Regions from separate parts of the Homo sapiens genome. Here regions 2, 3, 4, 5, 6 and 7 are each linked to region 1. The links are contacts of gene promoters, found by promoter capture Hi-C in blood cells and fetal thymus (Javierre and others, 2016). All regions are on one chromosome and are shown on one strand. The core of a region is centred on a gene start or on the middle of the fragment in contact, and the rest is flanking DNA. Distances in the headings are between cores, read along the strand shown. Region 1 holds the start of JUN (Jun proto-oncogene, AP-1 transcription factor subunit). Region 2 overlaps FGGY (FGGY carbohydrate kinase domain containing). Region 3 holds the start of LOC124904192 (a long non-coding RNA gene). Region 4 overlaps FGGY (FGGY carbohydrate kinase domain containing). Region 5 overlaps FGGY (FGGY carbohydrate kinase domain containing). Region 6 overlaps FGGY (FGGY carbohydrate kinase domain containing). Region 7 overlaps FGGY (FGGY carbohydrate kinase domain containing).

Region 1 (3,740 bases), core at 311-2,810:
ATGGAAACTGCGAGGCAGGGGAGGGAAGCGGGCTGTTTGGCCACCACCTCCCTAGTGCTGCAGGCGACCCTGTCACACTAACTCCTGGCAGCCCAGTGAGGTGGACGGCACCGGCCCCACCTGCAGATGAGGGAAATGAAGCTCGGAGGAGTTCCGTGATTTGCTTGCTTCACACTGTGGTAGCCTGGCCACGAAAGAACCAGGATTCCCGACTTCGGGATTCTTTCCACCACACACTTTCGTCCCTAAGGGGTGGGGGGCGGGGGGAGAATAAAATAACCGCGGAAAAGGAACCACTTACATGTGTCTAGCGCTTCCTAGAGGCTACCCAGGATATGCGCCCACCACCCGGCCGGGAGTGCAGAGATTTGAAGTCCAGGTTCTACCCCGGGCTCCGAGTACTACTGCGTGACTTTATGCGAGTGTCCGCCGCCTTCTGGGCTTGTTTTCCCGGAAGCAACTCGGCGCGGATGGAGTGTGTGTGTGCGCGCGCGCGCGCGTTATGTTGTGCGTGTTGTGTTAAGCGTGTGCGTGTTGTCCGGGGGCGGGAGGGGGAGTAGACTAACACCGGGGTTCCCCGAGTTTCGGATCGCCTACACGCTTGTTCCCATCTGGACCCTGTTACCCACCAATTGCGCCCACTATAAAAACTGCCCCTCCGAGGCAAAGCTGTGAACCCCCGCGCCCTTTCCCCCACGGTCCCGGAGGATGAAGTGGGGTGCAACGGAGACTCAGCTGAGCGTCCAGTTTCGGGCAATACAAATCTCTCGGCTTCTACGAGCAGCCAGACGACCCCGCGGACCGTCGCTCCTGAACTTGACCGAGATGCAAACTTCGGAGTGTTCTCAACGTGGGGGGCCGACTCTCGGGAGACCGCCCCTAAACTTAAGTCCCCTTAGGCTCGCCCCCACCTGGGACTTCACAGAGCCACCTTAAGGGCGGTATTCCCGCCCCCCCGGAAGTGCGGGGGGGTGGCAGCGTACTTGGATTCTCAGCCTCCAGCCCCGCGCGGTGGCGGCCGCCGGTGGATGACTTCGGGCCCCACAAGTGGGGAAACAACAACCACCCCTCGCCCGCACCCCTGGCCCAAAACAACTGGCCAGGTTCCCTGGCCTCCCGGGTCCCTGCATCCCCCGCATCCCCGTCCGCAGCCGTGAACTTGAGCCCCCCTCCATCAGAGGTTGCGAGCGTCCGCCCGCTCGCGGCAGCCACCGTCACTAGACAGTCAAACCCCAAGACGTCAGCCCACAATGCACCGGGCGGGCCGGGAAAAACGGCCCGGGGAGGGGACCGGGGAAGAGAGGGCCGAGAGGCGTGCGGCAGGGGGGAGGGTAGGAGAAAGAAGGGCCCGACTGTAGGAGGGCAGCGGAGCATTACCTCATCCCGTGAGCCTCCGCGGGCCCAGAGAAGAATCTTCTAGGGTGGAGTCTCCATGGTGACGGGCGGGCCCGCCCCCCTGAGAGCGACGCGAGCCAATGGGAAGGCCTTGGGGTGACATCATGGGCTATTTTTAGGGGTTGACTGGTAGCAGATAAGTGTTGAGCTCGGGCTGGATAAGGGCTCAGAGTTGCACTGAGTGTGGCTGAAGCAGCGAGGCGGGAGTGGAGGTGCGCGGAGTCAGGCAGACAGACAGACACAGCCAGCCAGCCAGGTCGGCAGTATAGTCCGAACTGCAAATCTTATTTTCTTTTCACCTTCTCTCTAACTGCCCAGAGCTAGCGCCTGTGGCTCCCGGGCTGGTGTTTCGGGAGTGTCCAGAGAGCCTGGTCTCCAGCCGCCCCCGGGAGGAGAGCCCTGCTGCCCAGGCGCTGTTGACAGCGGCGGAAAGCAGCGGTACCCACGCGCCCGCCGGGGGAAGTCGGCGAGCGGCTGCAGCAGCAAAGAACTTTCCCGGCTGGGAGGACCGGAGACAAGTGGCAGAGTCCCGGAGCCAACTTTTGCAAGCCTTTCCTGCGTCTTAGGCTTCTCCACGGCGGTAAAGACCAGAAGGCGGCGGAGAGCCACGCAAGAGAAGAAGGACGTGCGCTCAGCTTCGCTCGCACCGGTTGTTGAACTTGGGCGAGCGCGAGCCGCGGCTGCCGGGCGCCCCCTCCCCCTAGCAGCGGAGGAGGGGACAAGTCGTCGGAGTCCGGGCGGCCAAGACCCGCCGCCGGCCGGCCACTGCAGGGTCCGCACTGATCCGCTCCGCGGGGAGAGCCGCTGCTCTGGGAAGTGAGTTCGCCTGCGGACTCCGAGGAACCGCTGCGCACGAAGAGCGCTCAGTGAGTGACCGCGACTTTTCAAAGCCGGGTAGCGCGCGCGAGTCGACAAGTAAGAGTGCGGGAGGCATCTTAATTAACCCTGCGCTCCCTGGAGCGAGCTGGTGAGGAGGGCGCAGCGGGGACGACAGCCAGCGGGTGCGTGCGCTCTTAGAGAAACTTTCCCTGTCAAAGGCTCCGGGGGGCGCGGGTGTCCCCCGCTTGCCACAGCCCTGTTGCGGCCCCGAAACTTGTGCGCGCAGCCCAAACTAACCTCACGTGAAGTGACGGACTGTTCTATGACTGCAAAGATGGAAACGACCTTCTATGACGATGCCCTCAACGCCTCGTTCCTCCCGTCCGAGAGCGGACCTTATGGCTACAGTAACCCCAAGATCCTGAAACAGAGCATGACCCTGAACCTGGCCGACCCAGTGGGGAGCCTGAAGCCGCACCTCCGCGCCAAGAACTCGGACCTCCTCACCTCGCCCGACGTGGGGCTGCTCAAGCTGGCGTCGCCCGAGCTGGAGCGCCTGATAATCCAGTCCAGCAACGGGCACATCACCACCACGCCGACCCCCACCCAGTTCCTGTGCCCCAAGAACGTGACAGATGAGCAGGAGGGCTTCGCCGAGGGCTTCGTGCGCGCCCTGGCCGAACTGCACAGCCAGAACACGCTGCCCAGCGTCACGTCGGCGGCGCAGCCGGTCAACGGGGCAGGCATGGTGGCTCCCGCGGTAGCCTCGGTGGCAGGGGGCAGCGGCAGCGGCGGCTTCAGCGCCAGCCTGCACAGCGAGCCGCCGGTCTACGCAAACCTCAGCAACTTCAACCCAGGCGCGCTGAGCAGCGGCGGCGGGGCGCCCTCCTACGGCGCGGCCGGCCTGGCCTTTCCCGCGCAACCCCAGCAGCAGCAGCAGCCGCCGCACCACCTGCCCCAGCAGATGCCCGTGCAGCACCCGCGGCTGCAGGCCCTGAAGGAGGAGCCTCAGACAGTGCCCGAGATGCCCGGCGAGACACCGCCCCTGTCCCCCATCGACATGGAGTCCCAGGAGCGGATCAAGGCGGAGAGGAAGCGCATGAGGAACCGCATCGCTGCCTCCAAGTGCCGAAAAAGGAAGCTGGAGAGAATCGCCCGGCTGGAGGAAAAAGTGAAAACCTTGAAAGCTCAGAACTCGGAGCTGGCGTCCACGGCCAACATGCTCAGGGAACAGGTGGCACAGCTTAAACAGAAAGTCATGAACCACGTTAACAGTGGGTGCCAACTCATGCTAACGCAGCAGTTGCAAACATTTTGAAGAGAGACCGTCGGGGGCTGAGGGGCAACGAAGAAAAAAAATAACACAGAGAGACAGACTTGAGAACTTGACAAGTTGCGACGGAGAGAAAAAAGAAGTGTCCGAGAACTAAAGCCAAGGGTATCCAAGTTGGACTGGGTTGCGTCCTGACGGCGCCCCCAGTGTGCACGAGTGGGAAGGACTTGGCGCGCCCTCCCTTGGCGTGGAG
Region 2 (3,740 bases), core at 646-3,145, 740 kb before region 1:
CACTATCTGTTGAGTTTTTGTGCCATGAAAAACAGTGGACCTGATCCTACTCTTGCAGCCAGTGACGCAAGTGCAATCTTAGACTCTGGGCCCCCAAACACACACTTTTCTAGCAGTCCGTACCTTTTGAACTTGGAGTAGGAAGTCCTCCTAACAGGTGCTTGGCAGTGTCAGAACCAGTGGCTGGATTACTGTGTGTTTTTTTGTTTTTGTTCCCCAGTTCAGCAAAGGAAAATAACAGCTCAGCTAATTTTCTCGGCCATATACTAATACAGGAGAGAATAAGTGAAACCTTCTGTTTAAAAATGGCCCCAGAATACCAGATACAGTTCTGTAGTAGATGAGATGATCAGAGCTTGTTTAAAATGAGAGGCTCTGGGCACAGAATAAGACACCTTGCTCCATTTACTAGGTACTACTTTTCCATTGTTTGATGCAAGGGTTGCACTAAAGCTGATGTGAAGACAGAGGCACACAAATAAGGGTTTGAGTCTTGGATCCAGTCTTCCTGGTCCTGTAACCTTAGGCAAATCCCTTCACCTCCTCGAAGGTCAGTTTTCCCAACCATTCGTGGGAGGTAAAAATACCTTCCCTATTCCAAGGGTAGTTTAAAAACAGCAAGTCACTACAAAAAGATTAAGATTAATCTTTGAGATTGAGATTGTAAGCATTAATTAACAAATTTAGTAAACAAAATTAACGTCAACATTAATATTGTTTATCTCTCCACCACACAACCCCAATAGCTACGCATCCCATTCCTACCCTGATCTAATAAGCCTGGCCTTATTCCCCATGATTGATGGAACCCAGACTCCTGTGCTGCTTTAAATACACTTTATTAGAGTCACTTCTCCACCCTGGGCCTCAACTTTCTCATCCATAAAATAGATCTACAAACGTCCAGAAGGATATTAAGCAGAAGCTCTATCTTCCACTATAGATACAAATATGCATTGGTGTAAGTATGGGCTAACGTAAGTAAAGGCACAAACATACCTACACACAAATAGATTCACTAGCCAGGTCAACACGGGAGAGCTCATAGGCTCTGCAATCGGTGGGTCCAGGAACCCAACTTTATAATTTATTAAAATGTAACCTTTGGCAGGTTCTTAAACCTTCATCCTTGTATGTTAAAGTCCAAAAATAATTGTAGCTCACAGTGTGGTTGTGAGCTCACAATAGTGAATAGTCAAGTACCTAGCAAAACACTTGGCACAGCATAGGTATTCAACGATTGGTAGGTGAAATAAAAATAACTGCTTTGAGCTCTTTGGAAGGAACTCGAATAGCAGGTGTTTTTATTATTTCCAGCTCTGGAGGAGATTCTTTGGAGCTTTTTGTAGATTGTGACAACAAAACAAAGAGATTTACTCAAGTGTGGCTCAGGAAAACTAAATTACCTATTTAATAACCACCAGTGAAGCTGCCTGTGGCCATTAAATGGGATATAAGGTATAAAATGGAATAACAAATCAGGAGTCATTCCCTTTTCCTAATCTGGAGACAGTGTAGTACAATGGGGCGGGGACCCTGGCTGATGAACTAGGTCACTCAGATTCTAAATTTGACTCTGAAAGTAATATGCTGGGGTAACTTTGGATGATTCACCATTGTCTGGGCCTCAGTTTTCTCATCTGCAAATTGAAGAATTTGGTATACAGAATCTTTGAGCAGCCTTTTAGTTCTAAAGCCTATGATTACTCATTATCCAAACAGGAGTGTATGTATTAAACTCAAAATATTATGGTTTCATGGCAGGTTCACAGCCATATACACTGACGTGTGGCACAAGATTTAAAAACTGGGGACACATGGGGAGCTGGCAATAGCACCAGGCCCTGGATTCTCTCGGTTTTCTTCCACAGAGTCAAAGTCTGGTCTCTCAGCTAAGGCCAGCCTTCTGCAGTCCAGAGAATCACAGCACTCCAAGAAAGCCTTGGAGCCTGGGAACAGGAAACTCAGTTATCCTTCCCCCCACGTATGCTCTCTGCCCCTCCCTCCATCACATGAGCTGTTGCCACGGCTCATGAACTGCCGAGGTCTCAGGCAGTAGTGGGTCGCATTAAACCGAACCTCAACTTAAAACAATAAACTTGCAATCCCATGAATACGTTCTTCCTCTGCCCTCTGTGATTCACATCCAGGAACTCCCAGAGTTGTCCTTGCTCTATCTGCTCAGGGACTGGCACGGTTTTCTCCTTCCAGATTCCACGGCATGACTTTATCTGCATTTCTAATCCCCCCCCACCCCCAATTTCTTGCAGACCGTCTGCCTCTTTGGATCCATATTCTCTCTCATTTTGGACAAGCTCCCTCCTGCCCCCAGCTTTTGGCCAGCGCCTGGCCTGGCTCCTGCGCAGCACGGTTCTGCTCTGGTCTGATCTGCCTACTTGGCAGAAACACATCAATACTGCTTCTGACCCCAGTGTCCTCAGTGCCAACTCATCCCCCCAGGCTGTCTCCTCTGGGTACCAGGTGACATTTTCCACACTTAGAACAAGATTCCAGGCATCCTCAGCAGGGTAGGGCATGGGAATCTATATTTTCTTAAAGTCTCCCTCACCTATATTTACCAATTCTTATTCTGGATTTTTCAAAACCCTCTTATATTTATTATCTTAATTACTAATAATAGTAATTAAATAATTACATTGATTTAGTGAAGACCAGCTATGTGGATTTCATGCTGGATGATGGGCATACAAACGTGAACATGATTTGGTGAAAAAACTGAAATAGTTGTAAAGTATTTCACAGATACAGCATAGAGAGTGATTGGTGCTTTTCTAAGAATGGATTAAATTTGGAGATGTTTCCACAAAGTAACATTTAGACTGAGTGCTGATGGATGAGTAACAAAGGAAAGGAGGTGGAATGTGCATGATGTGCTGAAAGACGGCCAAGTTGTCCCGTGTGGCTTGACTCTGAAATAGATGAGCTAGAAACCATCCTGTCCTCCCTACTCCTCAGGCTTCACTTCTATTATTTTCTTAATCTCACAACTACTTTTACTGAAGAGTCAATTTCACAAAACACATTTCAACAAAGTACTAATGTATCAGCAAAACCCTTATTGTGGGCTGCTTTTTGGCTTCTATAGAAATAAGCTGAATTGATGAAGAGAAATAATATCACTGGAGGTGTTCCAGGAGAGAATAGGGTTTCTCACCTTCAGTGCTACTGACATTTGACATTTGAAGCTGGATAATTCTTTGTTGCAGGGGGTTGGCCTGGGCATTGTAAGGTGTTTGGCAGCATCCCTGGCCTCTACCCACCACAGGCCAGTGCCATTTCCCTTTCCCCAGAAGCAATAAACAAAACTGTCCCCAGACATTGCCAAATGTCCCCTGAGGGGTCAAATCACCCCTGGTTGAGAACCACTGGCCTAGAGAAAAGATATATGAACCTTGGAGGCAGACTCAATTTCAAATCTTGCTATGAGATTAGTTATGTGATTGTGGAAACATTATTCTTTCTGCCTTCAATTCCCTCATGCAGAATGGGGAAACAACCTCTACCTTGTAGGCTTATCGTGAGGAGCAAGATATAAAGTCTGAGCAGTATCAGGTAGAGTACTTGGCACATAGGACACATGTAAGAAATGGTCATCATAGTAGTACCAGTCAGAGTGGTGGTTGTATTTGTTCTAATTAACAATGTTATTATTTTATTATTAGAAATGAAGCCTAGTTGAAGTTTAAAAGTCGCAAAAAATATATAAATTCCACTTTACC
Region 3 (3,740 bases), core at 557-3,056, 720 kb before region 1:
CAAAAAGTTTCTCCCTATGGTCATGTCTCCACGGCATGCCTTCAGAGGGAAATGCTTTAAAAGTGCAGAAGGTGTTCTCTTTAGAGTTATTTTAAGAACAAAACGCTTGTTTCAAAAGGAAAATTCATTATTTTGTCAGCAAAATACTTGACTGTTAAGATGTCCAATGCTTTCAAGACCCATGCAAACAGTTCTACCATGGAGAGTTACCCCACTTCTAGGAAAAGGAAAACTTGGGAAATACATGAAAATACTTTAGGTGTCATTGTGCTAAAAATATTACAAGGTTTAAAGCAGTGGTTTCTACAATTTTGCTTTTTTTTTTCACAATCAAATACAAAGATCACATAAAGAAAACTAGGGATTTATATAGGTTTCTCAATTTTTTATCCTGTCTCATTTACTAATTAAAACCAAATCTTACAATGAGGATTTATTTGACACAAAATTGTATCACTAAAAACATAGGAAGCAGAGGATCTCAAAATAAAGGATGTTCTTTTTTAAGGTAAATACACTTCCTTTTATGACCTCATGTATTTATTGCATCACACACCAGTGAACACTTTGTCAAGGGCCAGCGTTGGTTTCTCGTCTGGACTACTGTTTGCAAACTGCTGACTTACAAAATGGTAACAGCCTCCTAACAATGGGTGAATCTACAGGATGTCAAGCAGCAACTCTCAGGTGAACCACTCAGTCAGTGGATCTGGTGTTAACTATACAATGCCAAATGTCTTCTGGTGATCTGAAGACATCAGGGGCTTTTCTATCATGTAGACCAAACATGATTCAGGTAACTGACAAAATTTTTCACTTCCCAACCAGATGTCTTACTTGCATAGAAATGAAGCCCAACTTGTACTTTCATGTGCAAATAGGCTAGACATAAATTCACCCCTGGAGGGCAGGATTAATTGCTTATCCTCAACGAACGCTAAATTACATATTATTTCTTCTTCTATTTCCAACTATTTTACCTTTGAAGAAGGTTTTCTGCTATTGTTTTGAAAAGCACACATTTCATCTTAGAAATGGTCTGTCTTTTTACATGTTTCTTCCTTTTTTTTTTTTTTTTTTTTTTTGGCAAGAAGGCAGTGTGCTACAATGAAGAGTGTGATCTTAGAAGTCAGGATAATCTGAGTTCTAATTCCATGCACCTACTTTCCCAAACTTTAAGGGCCTTGCAAAAAAGGCACTTAAAATCCCTGAATTCAGTTTCTCTGCAGATATATATCATAAAAGCCATCTATAAGAGGCACTGTGAAGATTTGAGATCATTTATTCCTATAATATGTATTGGGTGCTTGCTCTGTGCCTGGTACTGAGAGACCATGGAGAACCACAGTGTCTGCCTGTCCTCCAGGGGCTCTGTCAGTAACAACACACTCATGCCTAACAAGCTGGAATGACAAACGTACCATAAAACTAAGGTGATATCTTTATTCAGGATTTTAAATAAAATTATGAGTAACTCCAACTGTTGCTGATCCTTAAAGATGAATATCAAGTTTATAAAAGGAAGGATATGTCTGAAACCTTTGCTCTTCCTTAAATCTACTTTCAAGCATACCCTGGAATTTGCTCTGATCATATTTGTTTAAAGAATTCACGTGGTTATCAATGAGCTTCCACCTTCTATGCCGTTGTCCTGACAACCAAGCATTTACTAGACAGAATATGGAAAACAGGTAACAATGTGTCTCTACAGTCAGGGTTGTAGGCAAAATTCGACAGTACAGAGACAATCAAATGACTAGGGTCTTTGTGTTTGAAATCCTTAAAGGGAAATACAAACATATATATGTATATATTTACACACACACACATACATATATATACATGAATAAAAGAGAGTAAAGATTTTACAGAGAAATTAACTGGGCAAGGAGAAGCTGCTATGCATGACTCACTTGTACTTTAATAGCAGCTATGTTTCAAGAGTCAGGTCACAGGTAATGTTGCACATAAGGAAGAAAGGCTAAGTCTGCTGTTACTGTTGTTCAGTTACACTAATAAGATGTTAGGTTCTTTTCCTAGCCTATGTTTCACCAAAGCCAGAAATATCTCAAACATATGAAGAAATGGAATACGACTATGTTCTTAAACTTTTTTTCCAGGACCAAAACTTTTTTTTTCCAAATGAAATCCTCTATAGCACTCTAGCACAGCAGTCTCCCCTTATCTGCAGTTTCGCTTTCCATGGTTTCAATTTCTCATGGTCAACTCTAGTACAAAAATATTAAATGGAAAATTCCAGAAATAAACAATTCATAAGTTTTAAATTGCACACCATTCTGAATAGTGTGATGAATTCTCACGTTATCTAGCTTGGTCCCACCTGGGATGTGAATCATCCCTTTGTCCAGCAAATCCATGCTGTAGGCACTACCTCCCTGTCGTCCGCTTAGTAATCCTCTCAGTTACCAGATCAAAAAAAAAAAAAAAACAAACATAGTATACATAGGGTTCAGTACTACCCATGTTTTTAGGCATCCACTGGGGGTCTTGGAAGGTATTTTCCATGGACAAGGGGGAACTACTATATATAATTATTCTCTGGTTCAAGCAGAGAAGAAAGTGTCCAGGGGTGATACATGCAACAGCTCTGGCACCAGAGGATCATCCAGATTTGGGGGGCTGAGAAATAGAGATCAAAATCTAAACATTAACCTATGGTGAGAGACTATCCATCTTGGAAGCATTAAAGAGGGGAGGGATGGTAATTTGGAACTGTAAAATAGAGCTCCTTGAAACTTCTACTACAGTGCAAAAGCAGAAGCAGCAGAAAGTGTCCACTTTTAACCACACAGACAATGACCTCACTCCTGAATGAAGGAGGACACTGGCATTTGCAGTCCCTCCGGGGGAGGAGTGGAATTTGCCAAGTTGGCATTTAGCCAAAATGATGGAGTAAAATCCCTGAAGCCCTCACTCATGTTGACGTGGAAATCGAGCAGAGAAAGATTCAAAACATGACATAACTTAATGACACTTAAAGTTCTATCTACGTCACCCAGTTGGTGGGGGAGGGGGATCATACACATATTGGGAAAAATGCTCAAGTGCTAGGATGGCAGCATGAACAGCATTTGGGAACTTGTTAGAAGTGTGCATTCTCAGTCCCCACCCTAGACCTACTGAAGCAGAAACTGTGGTGTGGAGCCCAGCCATCCTCCCTCACCAGGTGATTTTGACGCACACCAAGGTATGAAGAGCCCTGCATTAGAGTCACCTAGGGAGCTTCTGAAAATAGCAATTCCTGGGCCCCATTCTTGACTTCTGGTCAATGTTATAAAGTGGAACCCTAGGATTCTTATTTTTAAAAGCTCCCAGGTAATCCGGAGACATAAGCAGAAATAGGCACAGAATCCAAAGAAAATAAATGTTAACAATGAGAACATTTAAAGGCATTATGTATTGGATGTGTGAATTTTACAAGTACAATCTAAGATTAAACGATGGCCTCTCTTCTGAGTTGAATGACTTTGGGCAAGCTACTCGCCAGCCTACTTCTCCTCATTTGTAAAATACACATATTTTAGGGTTGTGAAAGTTGAATGATAATAAATTCTTGGTACAGTGTCTGGTACATAGTAAGCACTAAATAAATGAGGTCAATTTTTATTAATCTCCTAATAACAATAAAGAAAAGCTAACTCATGTAGAATCCTGTTATACCAAGTGGCACAGGTTGGGGTACAGGAGGGAGACCCTCCAGCATCTTTGAAGCTTTCTTA
Region 4 (3,740 bases), core at 601-3,100, 670 kb before region 1:
GAGAAAAGGAATAAAAAAAAAAAAAGAAAAGAACAAATGAGGGAGATACTGTAATTAAATGAATACAGGGCTAGGTATTTTATTATACTGAACTGAAGTAAGATTTAAGCCCACAGATTAAAAGTCTCATTAAGTCCAGGAAGTAAATCCAGGAAACACTTGAATTTCAAGAGTAAACAGAAAATTATACAAGCTTCCAGACAGAAAGAATAGGTTACTTACAAAGGATTAATCCTAGCTAAGGGAATTCTCATCTACAACTCTGGAATGTAGAAGACACTAGAATAATGTACAAACTATTACGAGAAACTGATTAAAGAATCCTATACCCAGACAAAATATTATTTAGCTGTAAGAGGCAAAAAAAACATTTTCAACACACAAGGATTCAAAAAGTAAACTCATAAGCACTGTCTGAGGACAATACTTGAGAAAGAGTATAACCAAATAACAATTGATTCAGAGCAGCTTTCTCAATATGGTGGAAATCAAAGACTAGAGGAACCAGTAGACACTGAGACCCTTTCTCACTCTGTGTGTCTCTTTCCTGCATATATGTATATATATGCATGTATGTGCATAATATGCTTAAACATATACATATATGCATAAAAATATATGCATATACGTATTGAAATCTAAGTGGATAATAATAATGTAAGCAGGAATCTGTAATATTGAGTTTTCTTAAAATACAATAGGCTTGCTGTTCTACAAAAAAAAAACAAACAACAACAAAAAAAACTTAGTAACAGTCTGGAACTGAAAATAAACATTAAGTAAGCAAATATTAAGTAAGAGTCTAGAGAAGGGGTACACAGAAAACGTTCCTTGAAATACATATACATGTTTAGGCAGAACATAAGTTTATTGTTGGTTATAAGGAATGAGAATGTAACCACTAGTAGAAACAAAACACTTAGTAGGACTCTCAAAGTAACAAGGAATAAAAGGGAATAAAGAAAAAATTAACAAGCCAGTGAAACCAATAAACCACACAAAACAAAAAGGAAAGGGAATGGGGAGTGATGTAATATAAATAGAAAACAAAATAAGATGGAACAAATAAGGTCAATTATCTCAGTATTTCATCAAATGTGAATGGGCTGAATTCCACAACCAGTTAAAAGATAAGATTAATCATACTGTGGTTAAAATTAAGCTATATACCTTGTTTATAATTCAGATTTTTTAAAATGTGATTCAGTTTTCTTTCAAAAATGTTCTACAACAAATACAAACAAAAAAATTTTTAAATGACAATATAAGTATCAAAGTAGAATCAAGATCAAAAATATTTAACAAGGAAAAGAAGAATATTTCATAATGACAAAATGCTCAATCCAAGAAAACTACCATTCATAATATTTTATGAACCAAACAATGTAGTATGAAATATATGAAACAAGAGCTTCTAAAATTTAAAAAGCATTTGAAAAAAGACAATTCTATTTAAATATGTGATTGTACTTTCAGAATGTGAAGAGACATGTAAACTATAAGAGTAATAATAGCTATTATTATTACTACTGGGGAATTAAAGGGTGTTAATACAATCAACAAACTCAATTCTGTATACTCATATAGGAGGAGGGAGAAGGAGAATACTTTATAATTCATGCAGAAACTACATGGGTTAAAGATACCAAATGGAAATGTGAACACACACAAAGGAATGAAGAGTATCAGAACTGCTAAATATGTGAGTAAATACAACAGACATAAATTTCTTTAAAAAAATTGAATTTAAATCTTTATACAATCCAATGCATGAACAAATCATATGAGAATAATAGCACAAATCACAGGAAGATATGAAAGTGTATTATATATAATGAGGCATCAAAATTATTTTAAGGTCGACTGTGATAAGTGAAAGACGCATATTAGAAACTGGCAAGAGGTAAAACTTTTTAGAGATAAAATGGAATACTAACAAATATTTAAGTAATCTGGAGAATACAGGAAAAGGGAATAATTATATAGAATATATGGAAGACAGAAAAAGAAAATAGATTAAAACCCAACCAATAAATGTAAATGACCTAAAATCTCCAGTGCGAAGGCAGAGATAATAAAGCTGAATAAAAATAAAACCCAACTATATGGAGTTTAAAAGAAACTTATTCTACTTTTTAGAGAAGAGCTCACTCTGTTACACAGGCTGGAGTGCAGTGGCATGATGAGGACTGACTGCAGCCTTTAACTCCTGAGCTTAAGGAATCCTGCCACCTGAGCCTCCTAAGTAGCTGAGACTATAAGCACACACCACCATGCCCAGATTACTTTTTCTTTTTTTTATTTTTTAGAGATGGGGGTCTCACTATGTTGCTGAGGCTGGTCTCCATCTGCTGGCCTCAAGCAATCATCCTGCCTTAGTTTTGTGAGTAGCTGGGATTACAGGTGTGAGGTGAGTCGCAGTGCCTGGATAAAAACAAAACAAAACAAAACAAACAAAAAATACTTATTTTCAATATAAAAATGCAAGATAAAGAGTAAAAAGATGCAAAAATATGGCATGCAGGCTGGGTGTGGTGGCTCACGCCTATAATCCCAGCACCTTGGGAGGCTGAGGCAGGTGGATCACAAGGTCAGGAGTTCGAGACCAGCCTGACCAACATGGTGAAACCCCATCTCTACTAAAAATACAAAAAAAATTAGTTGGGCGTGGTGGTGTGCGCCTGTAATCAGCTACTCAGGAGGCTGAGGCAGGAGAATTGCTTGAACCTGGAAGGTGGAGGTTGCAGTGAGCCGAGATTGTGCCATTGCACTCCAGCCTGGGGGACAGAGCAAGACTCAGTCTCAAAAAATAAATAAATAGATAAGGCATGCAGATACAAATAATAAGCTGAGGTGGCTATATTAATATCAAAGTAGACTTCAGAACAAGAAATGTTACCAGGAATAAACAGGTACATTACATATTGAGAAAAGGGTCAATTCACCAAAAAGACTCATAAAGAAGAAATCATAATTTTTAGAAAGGCAACTCGAACTCAGCTAAAATTAGATCTTTTCTCCTTTTGTTTTGGCCTAGGACTAGCAAACATGTAATGCAAAAACTGTATATGAAATCAAGGATTCATGACAGAATGTGGTCACCTAAAGCTGCCCCTGTTTTATAGGTTTGCCTGAAATTCCAGTGGTCTCAGCAGCCCATGGTGATGAAAGGATCTGGCCCACTAAAGGAGTCCAGAACCGTGGACTATTTTAGGCATGAGTGTGTATGAGTGGGGAAGACCAGGAGGCACTGAAGGATCTATCTCATTATCATAAAAGAATGTTATTATTTTATTTTATTTCTTGATGCTCTATCTGGCCTTCTGGAAATTTCAGTATATAAGGTCAGGCCACAACCTCCCACAGCAGGGTCCATATCTGCCTTTTTCATCCAGTTATATGGATGAATAAGCACAATGCTACTCTGGCAAATTTTGAGAGCACAATGCATGTTAATTAAGTGAATGAATAAAAACCTTCAGATCTCAGTTATAGAAGGAAGCTTTCAGGTTCCTAATCATTTTTTAATGGCTTCTATTATAAAGCCTAGATCTTTAGATACTGCTCTGTATGCAGGCTGGAGAAGAGACAAAAGTTAGACTCCTGGAGTGCATGAAGCAGAACACTGGGTTCCTTGCATAGACCATTAACCTCAATGGAACCAGGAGAGCCTTCCAACAATGCTCTCCTGGTTTTGCCTACCTCACATTCCTCCCACCACCTACTGCCCAAGACACAAA
Region 5 (3,740 bases), core at 887-3,386, 620 kb before region 1:
CATGGATAAAAGTTAAATAAGAAAACAAAAGTCCAGTTAAGGCTGCCGTGGTTAAAGTTACAAATAAAAGCAAACACTTCATAGATCTCTAGTTCGCGAACCCAAGAAAGCTCTGTGGAAGCTCTCCTGAGCTTGAACAACAGGCTAATTTTCAAGCAGAAATCAAAGTGGTTGGGCCTCTGGACAAATAGCTTGAAAGCCCATGCATAAGCCTGGTCTCAGAGAGTTAAAAGGAATGCAGACTGCCCCAAAACACACCAGCCGTTTGTTTTTTCTGCCACCTTTCCAAGGGTCATGTCTGGAGTGAGGATAAACAGTTCTGGGGAAAAAAATGATGTGAAGTACAGACTTTAAGAAAATTAAACATTAGAAAAACATTTCTTAAAGAGTTATACATGTGCCTGCATATACATATATATTTAGAGAGACAGAATATTTATACATATACATGCGTGCACACATATGTGTGCCAAAATTATCCAAACTCTGTAGGTTTTCAGGTATGAATAAGAATAGCTAAGATAAGCCTTTGAAATGCTGTTATGTTTTTTAAGCAAGATCAAAAGTGTCTACAAAGGCATTCCAAAAACAGCAAAAGGTGTCTGAGCAACATTTCAGTTTTATTTAATAAGTAAAGATTAAGCTGAGTGCTTTTGGTTATTATTAACAGCATATTAATAGCATATTTTATTCTAGGTTGCTTAGAAATGTATTTGCAAAGTCCCAAATAGAAGACCTAGGAGAAAGAGAGAACTTACTGGGTGCCAGGAATTGTGCTATCTGCTATTTATGCAATGTCCCATTTTTCCAGCACAACAAACATAAATGGTATCAGGTTCTCAAGCCAACACAGCTTGCAGGTGGCAAAGCCCAATGCACTTGCCCCAGAATTCGAGTTTTTCTCCATCATGACACCACATGGCCTCCCAATGAAATGCTGAGAGTCAAGGCAATCTTTTCTAGTATTACTTATGAGAACAAAGAAATATTCCGTATTCCTGGGAAAACAAAATACCACAGCAAAGTAAAGAGTACCTTTCCTGTGATTTCCACTTTAGCAGAAAGCAGATGAGAAACCTTTTGGTCCAAGAGTTAAAACAAGATGATGAACAATTTACATGTAGTAGGCAATAAATATTTAATGCCACTTGGTACAGCGGTTCTTCAAAAATGTCTTCCAGCTCTGAAGGCCTTTCTGTTAATCCACACTTCAGGGGGTGCAGCCATGGCTTGAGGAAAATACATTTTTAATAAGGACTGTGCCAACACAGGGGGCTTAAAATGCTGTATAGCATTCCAGTTTTTAGAGCCCTCAGGGAATCTCACACTCTGGGGGAAAAGGGTCCTAATGTGAAGAAGTGAATGGAAAGAGGCCAGAAAAAATTATATCCTAGGGAAGGAGGCCCTGTTAGAGCCTGGTCAGGATAACTATCAGAATATTTTTTTTTCTCTCTCCCCGTGGATGAGCTAGTCAGGTTCAAGGGAATCATATTCCAGACAAATAAGCTCAGGACAAGAGGCACCGGCTGCTTTCCAAGCATTGATGGCATCTTAGCTGCTTAATCTGTGCCTGCAGAGCTGCAACATCACACACTCAGTGTGCAGGCCCTGGTGTCGAACCACCCCCTCCTCCCTTTTCTCAGGCGGTCTTGTAAAGTGTTGGATCTTTGCTACCATTCTCTCATTTTTTGTCTTGCCTTGGCTTTTAAATCTGATGCTCTACCCAGGGGACAGGGAAGAAACTCAGAGATCAGCATCAGCAGGAAGCTTCTTCCACCCATCAGCTAAAAGGACAAAGGAAGAAGGCAGGGCTAAAGCTCGAGACCCAGGACCAACCAGCCGATGACAGAGCCATGGAGGACCCAACCTGCAGGTGGGATAGCTGTAGAGGGGCCACTGCCAGAGATGCTGCCCAAGGCAGACAGAGGGAGGGACAAATACTCCAGCTTCTCTTTCTCTTGCCTTGCCATCTCCCACTGATGACAAATTGTCAGGGGGCAGGGGTCAACCCCCTGTAACACAGCACCCTTGCAGAGCAGGGCAAGGGTGACAAATGGATCTCAGTGCAAACAGCCCAAAGGCCAACACAATTGATAAGTTAAAAGACAGGTTGCAGAATCGTGTATCATGTGATATCATAATTGCTAAATATATGCATATATAATTTAAGTAAATATATGCATATCATATACACACAGATTGAGGTAACAAGAGATGGAAAGATCAAGCAAGAGCAAGGAGAAAAGGAGAAAGATACATGGCTGACCTTATTATTTTTGGTAGTCTCCAAAAACATTAAATTAGGGAACACTGGACCATTGTTCCTAAGGGAAATACAGGGCTAGGTTCCTCTGAGCCTCCAGTTATATTTTTGCCAACTCATCAATACGCAACCCTGTTTCATGTGTATTCTTGCTTAAAAACAACTCATTTAATATATATTGTTGAGTCAATAACACTGAACTTACAGCCAACAGCACTTAACTCCTGCCTGAATGAAGCTTATCAAACACACGTTATTGTCTCTGTAAGGCACATCGCAGCTTTCTTGCACTGTACTTGAACACTACACAGTACTTTTGCACAATGCTTGGGGTGCATTTTAAATGGTGAAATCGCCAACAAAAAGCACAAAAATGAGAAAAACATGGCACGAGTAGACTTCGAAAAGGACACTTGTTTACACTATGAGAGCTGAAACAAGAAGGCAGGGTGTTGTGTTATTTGCCATCGGCTAGGAACACGCATGACGAGAGACTCAGAAATTATCCTCCTCTCTGAGCATTTCTGCGAATGACTGTGAAAGTGCCACAAGTATTGATTTGAGGGTTACAAATAAGATTTAGTAAGTAGGCAAATTTGCAAACAAAGAATCTGCAAATAATGAAGAATCAACTGTCTATTAACAGGCTTAAAAAAGCTTTTTAAAAAACATTTGTTCCTGGAAAATAGGAGATAGAATGCTTTTTGTTTCACTACATTTTTGTCTTCTTTTCTATCTTATTGTTCTCTAGTTTTTCTTCATTGAGCTTGCAATTAAGTGGGGAAGAGGACTCTAAATATCAGATTTCAAAAAGAAAAAAAAAAAAGCTAGGGGAAAAAGCACTAAGAAGTAGAATAATTTAGCCTAACGGGAGATCATCGTAACATAGCACCAGAGAGCAGAGCAGGTCATCCTCACTGTGTGACATGAGGAGCAGTCTCAAAGTGTTTCCCACACCAAATTTCTACCACTCCTCTAGCCAACCAACCAAGTGGGGCAAATGACTAAGGTCGACTGGGGGGTAGGCTAAAGGTGGGAGGTTCATACAAGTTACCTTCCTGAGTAGGTATCTAACATTCCATGGGACAGGTTAGCCTGGACTTATAGACTCACACCTTCCCCATCCATCTCTAAAAAAAAATCTTATTTTATGCTCATTCGATGTTTACTAGTGAGATGATGTAAGTTTTAGTTCAATTCAGTAAATACCACTAAGCCCCTACAATGCAGAAATTATTGTACAAGGTGCTACTAGCCATAAAACACCTTTTTGTCAGGTTTTACCTGTTTTCTATGTACAAATCTACTCTAGCAACTCAAAAAATTAAAAATCTAATTTGTGAGATTCTTCAACTTCCAACCAGGAATAAGTTGCAGAATTGAAAAACCTGCAACCAGGAATAAGTTACAGAATCGAAAAAGCATCAGGATAGCACAAAAGCATAGTAATTTAGCTCTCTGTTCATTTCTTATGCCA
Region 6 (3,740 bases), core at 450-2,949, 570 kb before region 1:
TAGAGTTCATATTTACCTTAAAAATTTATGCCAAACAAATGTGTTATCTGGGATTTTTAACTTAAACCATCAGAAGTTGCTTTCTCTAATCAAAGTGAAGTAATAATACTAAAAATGATAGAAAAATAAAGTCATTATTAAGAAAATAATGAATAATTAATCAGCAAAATAAGAGAGCTCTCATTTTCTAATTGCTTGCTTTGCTTTACTTAGGTAAGCTCCAATGATGTCTTATCTGTAGACAGGGGTACCTGTGTGATAAAGGCTGGTGTTTGACCAGCTAACCTTTACAATAATTTTTCAAATTCATTTCTTAGAGTCAGAAACCTGGGTTTGCATTCCAACGTTGCCAGAGGTAATAAAGTTGATAAGTGGCAATCTACTTAACTCCCTCCATCCTCAATTTCTTCATCTGCAAAGCAAGTGATAACATCTACCTCACAGGATTTTCATAAGAATAAATGGGATAGAAGATTTGAAAGCACACAGTGGATATTTAATAAAGTCTAGTACAGGTGTTGGCCATGTATGTAGATAGCAATAAAACAAAGTCAATATCTTAACTAAAACTTATTTAATATTTCAGAAATGTAAACAACTTTTAATATTTCAAACTGCCTTCCCAAGTGTAACAATCTCCCAACTTATTCCAAAAATGTAAGCTGAGTAGAGGAACAGACAGATGGAAACAACATAAGTCATAAAGCAAGGACAGTAAATGTCCATGGCAGGCTCTAGGTGATGGCTCTGAGTATTCACTGTAAAAGTTTTTCAACTTTTTTATATGTTTGAAATTTTGATAATAAAACATGGCGGGGGGGTGGCAGGGCGGGTAATGGCTTTCACAGCCTCTCGCTCTTGGTACTAGATATGGGAATTCCTTGAGATAAAGGGTGAGCTTGGCTTCCTCCTTTCCTCCCCATCACCAAGCACAGTACTTTGTACCTAGTAGTTACCAGACAAAAGTTTCTTTCACTGATTAAATGAATATATCCCTACAATAACAGAACAATTATGGTCACTTTGGATAATAGGAAAAAAGAAAGTAAAACAGCCCAGGTGTTCAGAGAAATGAGATTTACTTACTCCTCCAAAAGAATACCATTTTGCACCTTTTTGGACTTCTAGCCTGCCACCTTCCTTGCATCAGTGGACATCCATTGACCCTGAGCCTCTAGATTTCCAAGTTGACAGTTTACACGCTATGAGTTACTGTATCACAACACACATTAAATGCATTGTCCTTTTCAGTGTTGTTTCTATAAAGATCGTATTTTCCTCCAGTAAGTGTGACTTCCATTTTAGCCACTATGAGAAAAGAATTTTGTTCAATTTTTGATCGACACAGAATCATACCATGTGTACATAAAGCAAGCCTAACTTCACAATCCTTCCTCGTACCTCTCTGGTTACACTAATGACTCCTAGAGGTGGCCAACATCCCTGCACAGCCGTCAGGAAGACTGGCAACAGGTAAGCCAGGCATGTGGTCTTCAGCACTACAGTCACATGGCTAGCTCCTGGCTGGCCAGGGGACATGAATTCATTTAGTAAATGTTTATTGAGTATTTTTTCAATGCCAAACACTGTGTTTGGCTCTGGGGATATAAAACAGTAAGGTATGAAAAGATAGATTTGGTCCCTGCTTTTATGGAGCTGAAAATCCACCAACCCAAATGAGGAAGAAACATGGTACAGCAGAATAACACACACACACACATATACCAGAATTTAAAGCCAAAAGGACCTTCATTAAGATCCAAGGGACTTCATTTGGCTCCAGTTTAAGCCCAAAGGACCTTCACCAAGATTTGATACCTGTAGAGAAGTCATTTCATTTCTTTGAGGCTTGTATTCATCTGTAAAATGTGAGAAGTAGTAATATTTATCCCACAAGGTCATGTCATAGATCATATAAAGGAAATATTTATGAAAGTCTGCCATAGCCATAAAGTAAAATTTTTTAAAGTATTATAATAATAGCTGACATTTATTAAATGTTACAAGGTATCTGGCCAACAACTTTTTTTCTTTTGTCTGCCTTTTAAAAATTACTTTGCTGGACTATAAAACTAAAAGAATGCAACACATATTTGGTATAAATCAAATATGCAAATACAGGATAATAAGGAAAGGATTCACTGTCCAGGTAGATGAAGGCAAGCCATCAGCCTCAACATTCTGTGTATTTAGTTACAAGTCCAGTACCCACCCTGGAGAGAAAATCCACAACACATGCCCTAACAGCAGCTGACAATACTGTCTTCATTCCTCAAAGGCTGGGAGGAATCTGGTCCAATATACAGGGCCCTGGTATAAACATTCTAAAGAAAGTCTTTCTGATTGAGAAGATGAGTCTTGGATTCTCCTGGGGGGTGAAGGGAGCAACTTAAAGTGGTATCCATCACAGGAGTCCAAAGACACAGTGGAGAGGCCCAGAGGAGTTACTGTCTCAGTCTAGAGCCTTCACTTTGCATACAAAATAAGCTGTGACTCCGGTAACAGGACTGCAGCCAAGGGGTGGCTCTAGGATGGAAAGGAACAGTAATGCTCAAATCTCATTTTCCACAATGAGGAAGAGAAAATTAACTTATGTTGGGCATACAGTGAACCTTTAGTTTGGAATGAAATGATTGGACAAATGCACCTAGCCATCAAAAATGGCATGAGATGATTTAATAAGTTCATCCGCTCATTCATCCACCCATCAAAATATATAATAAGTTATTAATGTTAGAATTTAAACATTGCTCTGGAGGCTAGGGACACTGAGATAAATACAGCACAATGTAATGCAATAAATTCTAGGGTAGAGATAAGCATAGAATGCCACAGGGGACAGAGTGTAGGACCCTAAGTCAAGGAAGGCTTCCTGGAGGCAGTGAAGGCTGGGTTTTGAACTATTATTATAAGTTTTCCTGGTGAAGGAAGAAATTACTATAAGTTTGCCAGGCAGAAGGAAAAACCTGAGCAAAGACCCAGAGGTGTGAGAGAATACAGGCATGGAATCATGAGAGCCCTGGACCAAGAAATTCGCCATCTGGAATGCCTTTCCATTTCTCTAAGCGCTTGCTAGAGGAAAAGTAATGACAGATTCCTTGAACAAATTCCCACAGCCTAAGTCTCAAATTCAAGTGCTCAGAGGGGTAGGGCTGAAAAAGGAAATGAGTGTAGCAGGCTGGGTGAGGACTGCTGCAAAATGAAGAATGCCGACCCCTTCTAAAGAAGGCAGCCCCTATTCAGCTCCAGCCGTTCCCTTCTGCATGGAAGTGTGGACCCTGTATTGCCAAGTTCTTTCATTATTTATTCAGGAAAATAAATAATCTGAATTTTCAGATAAAATTTCTCAATTTTTAAATATTGGAAACTAATTTAAAATTGTTTATTTTTTTTTTCCAAGCACATGGTAGGTCAAACTAAACCTGATTGGGGACCAGATTCAGCCAGTGGTCTGCCAGCCTGTAGCCCTGGCAAGTGGGAAGAAATGAGTGCCCTTTAAAAGCAGGCAGTGAGAGGCAATAGTTAGATCCCAGGAGCTGGAGGCAGACTGGACTAGGTGAGAATCTGGGCTCTACAACCTACTATTGTGTAGCTTTGGGGATGCTACTTAAGTCCTCTGAGTCTTGGTTTCCTCATACTGCCACACAGATACAGTAAAACAGCATGCTGTTACACTGTGTCACTAAAGGGCAGAGATAAAATTCTGCCTGTGAAGTCCCTAGCATGTTGCTTTTTAGGAA
Region 7 (3,740 bases), core at 547-3,046, 540 kb before region 1:
CACATGGAGTTCTATGAAAGAGACGTACAAGGCACTGTGAAAACATTTAATAAGTGAAATAAGACTTAGTTGGAGGTGGTATTGGTAGAGAAAATGCTCCTTCCTTGAAGAACTAACTTTTGAATTAAGGTTTGGGGCAGCACTATCCAATGGAACTTTCTACAATAATGAAAATGTGCTATATCTGTGCTGTTCAGTATAATAGCCACCATGTGGCTATTGAGCACTTGAAATTTGGCTGGAGCAAAAGAGGAAGTGAATGTTTAATTATATTTAATTGTAATTACTATAAATTTAAATGGCATTGTGGGTTCAGCAACTATTGGATTGGATAGCTTAGGTCTAAGGATGAACAGGAGTTAGATATGCTGGTGGAAGGTAGGAAGGATATGCAGCCAGAAGAAAGAATCTGGGTAACAATTCTTACGCTAAAGGGAGCATTGCATGTTTGAGGACATGACAGAAGGAAGGTGTGGCTGGAATGCAGAGAGCCAGGAGAAGCATCATGAGATGAGCCAGGAATGCAAGTCGAGACAGGCCATGTAGGGCCCTGAAGGCCATGTTAAGGATTGAGTTCTACCCAAATACAGGCATACCTCATTTTATCGTGCTTCACTTTATTGCACTTTGCAGATATTACATTTTTTACAAATTGAACGTCTGTGGCAACCCTGCAGTAAGCAAGTCCATTGCTGCCATTTTTCCAACAGCATGTGCTCACTTCATTAGCATTTTTAGCAATAAAGTATTTTTTAATTAAGGTACCTTTTTTTTAGATACAGTGCTATTGCACACTTAATAGACTACGGTACAGCACAAACAAAACATTTATGTATGCTGGGGAATCAAAAAATTCATGTGACTTGCTTTATTGAGATATTTGCTTTGTGGCAGTGGTCTGGAACTAAAACCGCAGTTTGAGGTATGCCTCAGGCATATCTGGTATCATTGTGCTTTGCTTTACCGCATCTTGCAGATTGTGTTTTTTACAAATTGAAGGTGTGTAGCAGCTCTGCAAAGAGCAAGTCTATCAGTGTCATTTTTCCAATAGCTCATGTCACCTCATGTCTGTGTCACATTCTGGTAATTCTTAATAATATTTCAAACTTTCATTAATATTATATCTGCTATGATAATATTTGATGTTACTATTGCATTTGTTTTGGGGCACCACAAACTGCACCCATATAAGACGGGCAAACTTAATAGATAAATGTGGTGTGTGTTCTCACTGCTCCACAGACTAGCTATTCCTCATCTCTCTCCCTCTCCTTAGGGATCCCTACCCCCGAGACACAACTTTGAAATTAGGCCAATTAATAACCCTACAATGGTCTCCAAATGTTCAAGTGAAAGAAGGAGTCATAGTCTCTCACTTTAAATGTAAAGCTAGAAATGATTAAGCTTAGTCAAGTAGGCATAGGGAAAGCCAAGACTGGCAAAAAGATAGGCCTCTTGCACCAAATAGTCAAGCTGTGAATGCAAAAGAAAGTTCGTAAGGAAAACTAAAAGCGCTACTCCAGTGAACACCTGAATAAGAAAGTGAAACAGTCTTATTGCTGATATGGAGAAAATTTGAGTGGTCTAGATAGAAGATCAAACCAGCCACAACATTCTTTAAGTCAAAGCTTAATCCAGAGCACAGTCCTAACTCTTCAATTCTGTAAAGGCTGAGACAGGTGAGGAAGCTACAGAATGAAAAGTTTGAAGCTACCAGAAGTTGGTTCAGGAGGTTTAAGTAAACAAGCCATTTCCATAATATAAAAACACAAGGTGAAGCAGCAAGTGCTGATGTAGAAACTCCAGCAAGTTATACAGATGATTTGGGTAAGACAATCAATGAAGGTGTCTACACTAAACAACATATTTTTAAGGTAGGCAAAACAGCCTTATATTGGAAGAAGATACCATCTAGGACTTTCACAGCTAGAGACAAAAAGCCAATGCCTGGCCTCAAAGCTTCAAAGGACAAGCTGGCTCTCTTGTTAGGGGCAAATGCAGCTGGTGACTTAAGTTGAAGCCAATGCTCATTTACTATTCCAAAAATCCTAGGGCCCTTAAGAATTATGCTAAATCTACTCTGCCTGTGCTCTAGAAATGGAACAACAAAGCCTGGATGACAGCACATCTATTTACAGCATGGTTTACTGAATATTTTAACCCTGCTGTTGAGACTTACTGCTCAAAGAAAAGAGATTCCTTTCAAAGTGTTACTCCTCATTGACAATGCACCGAGTCACCAAAGAGTTCTGATGAAGATGTACAAGGAGATGAATGTTGTTCTCATACCTGCTAACACAACATCCATTCTGCAGCCCATGGATCAAAGAGAAATTTCAGCTTTCAAGTATTATTATTTAAGAATTACATTTTGTAAGGATATAGCTGCCATAGATAGTGATTCCTCTAATTGATCTAGATAAAGTAAATTGAAAACATTCTGGAAAGGATTTACCACTCTAGATGCCATTAAGAACATTCATGATTCATGGGAGGTCAAAATATCAACATTAACAGGAATTTGGAAGAGGTTAATTCCAACCCTCATGAATGACTTTGAGTGGCTCAAGACTTAAGTGGAGGAAGTTACTGCAGAGGTAGTGGAAATACCAAACGAACTAGAATTAGAAGTGGACCCTGAAGATGAAATTGAATTGCTGTAATCTCATGATAGAATATGAACCGATGAGGGGCTGCTTCTTATGGATGAACAAAGGAAATGATTTCTTGAGATGGAATCTACTTCTGATAAAGATGATATGAACAATGTTGAAATGACAACAAACAATTTAGAATAGTACATAAACTTAACTGATAAGGCTAAGGTCTGAAAGAACTAACTCCAGTTTTGAAAGAAGTCCTGCCATGGATAAGATGCTATCAAACAACATTGCATGCTACAGAGAAATCTTTTGTGAAAGAAAGAGTCAATCAGTGCAGCAAACCTTACTTAAAAAATTGCCTTACTTAAAAAAATTACCACAGCCACCTAACCTTCAGCAACCACCACCCTAATTAGTAAGCAGCTATCAACATCAAGGTAAAACCCTCCACCAGGAAAAAGACTACAACTCACTGCAGGCTTCGATGATCATTAACACATTTTTTGGCAATTTTTAAAAATTAAGTTATATACTTTTTTTAGACTAATGCTATTACACATTTAATAGACTGCAATATAATGTAAACATAACTTTCATATGCACTGAGAAACTCAAAAATTCATGTGAGCTTTGTTGCAATATTCACCTCATTATGGTGTTCTGGAACTGAATTTATCATTATGCCTGTAGTAGAGTGATAGATGTTGAAGGGCTGTAGCAAAAGAGTGACATGATCAGTTAGCACTAGAGGAAAAAAAAAACACTTCAAATGCAAGAATAGAGAAAAGAAAAATGAATATCAAGACATCAGTTAGGTTCTTGGAATAATATTCCATGCAAAATATAAAGGTATATGGTGCTAGAGATAGAGAGAATGCATAGGTTTGACCCATCTGAGTTCTGCCTTATCACATACCACCTGGGTGACCTTAGGAAAATCACTTAACTCTCTGGCCCTCAGTTTTTCAAATGTAAATGGGAATAACAACTTCTTCCCTACTTCACCCTGCAATAGCAATCAAATGAAAATGAAGATGCACTGTAAACTATAATGGTTCTATGAATATAAGGTTAACATTATTGCTCAACCCGACATGTGGCTACTCTTTCTTCTGTCCCCCTCCCCACAACCACTAC

Evidence for each region. Contacts are between HindIII fragments. The CHiCAGO score rates a contact against its expected background, and 5 or more counts as called.
Region 2: a fragment that was not itself captured here is called in contact with the fragment with the promoter of JUN in region 1 in 1 of 17 cell types (neutrophils); the score reaches 6.0 in neutrophils.
Region 3: a contact is called between a fragment that was not itself captured here and the fragment with the promoter of JUN in region 1, in 1 of 17 cell types (neutrophils). The highest score is 5.5, in neutrophils.
Region 4: a contact is called between a fragment that was not itself captured here and the fragment with the promoter of JUN in region 1, in 1 of 17 cell types (neutrophils). The highest score is 8.0, in neutrophils.
Region 5: a contact is called between a fragment that was not itself captured here and the fragment with the promoter of JUN in region 1, in 1 of 17 cell types (total B cells). The highest score is 5.4, in total B cells.
Region 6: a fragment that was not itself captured here is called in contact with the fragment with the promoter of JUN in region 1 in 1 of 17 cell types (neutrophils); the score reaches 5.7 in neutrophils.
Region 7: a contact is called between a fragment that was not itself captured here and the fragment with the promoter of JUN in region 1, in 1 of 17 cell types (total B cells). The highest score is 5.0, in total B cells.

The regions. Positions count from the first base shown.
Region 1 is chr1:58,781,867-58,785,606 of GRCh38, reverse strand. JUN (Jun proto-oncogene, AP-1 transcription factor subunit) reads left to right here and starts at 1,560. Exons shown (of 1, transcript NM_002228.4): 1 at 1,560-3,740. The coding sequence starts at 2,537. The coding sequence ends at 3,532. JUN-DT (JUN divergent transcript) reads right to left here and starts at 456. Exons shown (of 2, transcript NR_108106.1): 1 at 302-456. RefSeq lists enhancers at 369-1,114, 1,341-1,600, 1,115-1,862, 3,271-3,450 and silencers at 3,121-3,200, 3,588-3,740. The HindIII fragment of the contact is 7,855 bases long and covers 1-3,740 here.
Region 2 is chr1:59,519,549-59,523,288 of GRCh38, reverse strand. The region is part of intron 7 of FGGY (FGGY carbohydrate kinase domain containing); the gene reads right to left. Among named protein-coding and RNA genes, the nearest start is that of MIR4711, 210 kb to the left of the region's middle. The HindIII fragment of the contact is 6,777 bases long and covers 1-3,740 here.
Region 3 is chr1:59,498,009-59,501,748 of GRCh38, reverse strand. The region is part of intron 6 of FGGY (FGGY carbohydrate kinase domain containing); the gene reads right to left. It overlaps LOC124904192 (a long non-coding RNA gene), which reads left to right and starts at 717. Exons shown (of 3, transcript XR_007066139.1): 1 at 717-796. The HindIII fragment of the contact is 3,856 bases long and covers 1-3,734 here.
Region 4 is chr1:59,448,366-59,452,105 of GRCh38, reverse strand. All of the region lies in intron 5 of FGGY (FGGY carbohydrate kinase domain containing), which reads right to left. Among named protein-coding and RNA genes, the nearest start is that of FGGY, 150 kb to the right of the region's middle. The HindIII fragment of the contact is 3,309 bases long and covers 196-3,504 here.
Region 5 is chr1:59,405,267-59,409,006 of GRCh38, reverse strand. The region is part of intron 5 of FGGY (FGGY carbohydrate kinase domain containing); the gene reads right to left. Among named protein-coding and RNA genes, the nearest start is that of FGGY, 110 kb to the right of the region's middle. The HindIII fragment of the contact is 734 bases long and covers 1,770-2,503 here.
Region 6 is chr1:59,355,577-59,359,316 of GRCh38, reverse strand. All of the region lies in intron 4 of FGGY (FGGY carbohydrate kinase domain containing), which reads right to left. Among named protein-coding and RNA genes, the nearest start is that of FGGY, 60 kb to the right of the region's middle. The HindIII fragment of the contact is 4,250 bases long and covers 1-3,740 here.
Region 7 is chr1:59,326,347-59,330,086 of GRCh38, reverse strand. The region is part of intron 2 of FGGY (FGGY carbohydrate kinase domain containing); the gene reads right to left. Among named protein-coding and RNA genes, the nearest start is that of FGGY, 31 kb to the right of the region's middle. The HindIII fragment of the contact is 331 bases long and covers 1,631-1,961 here.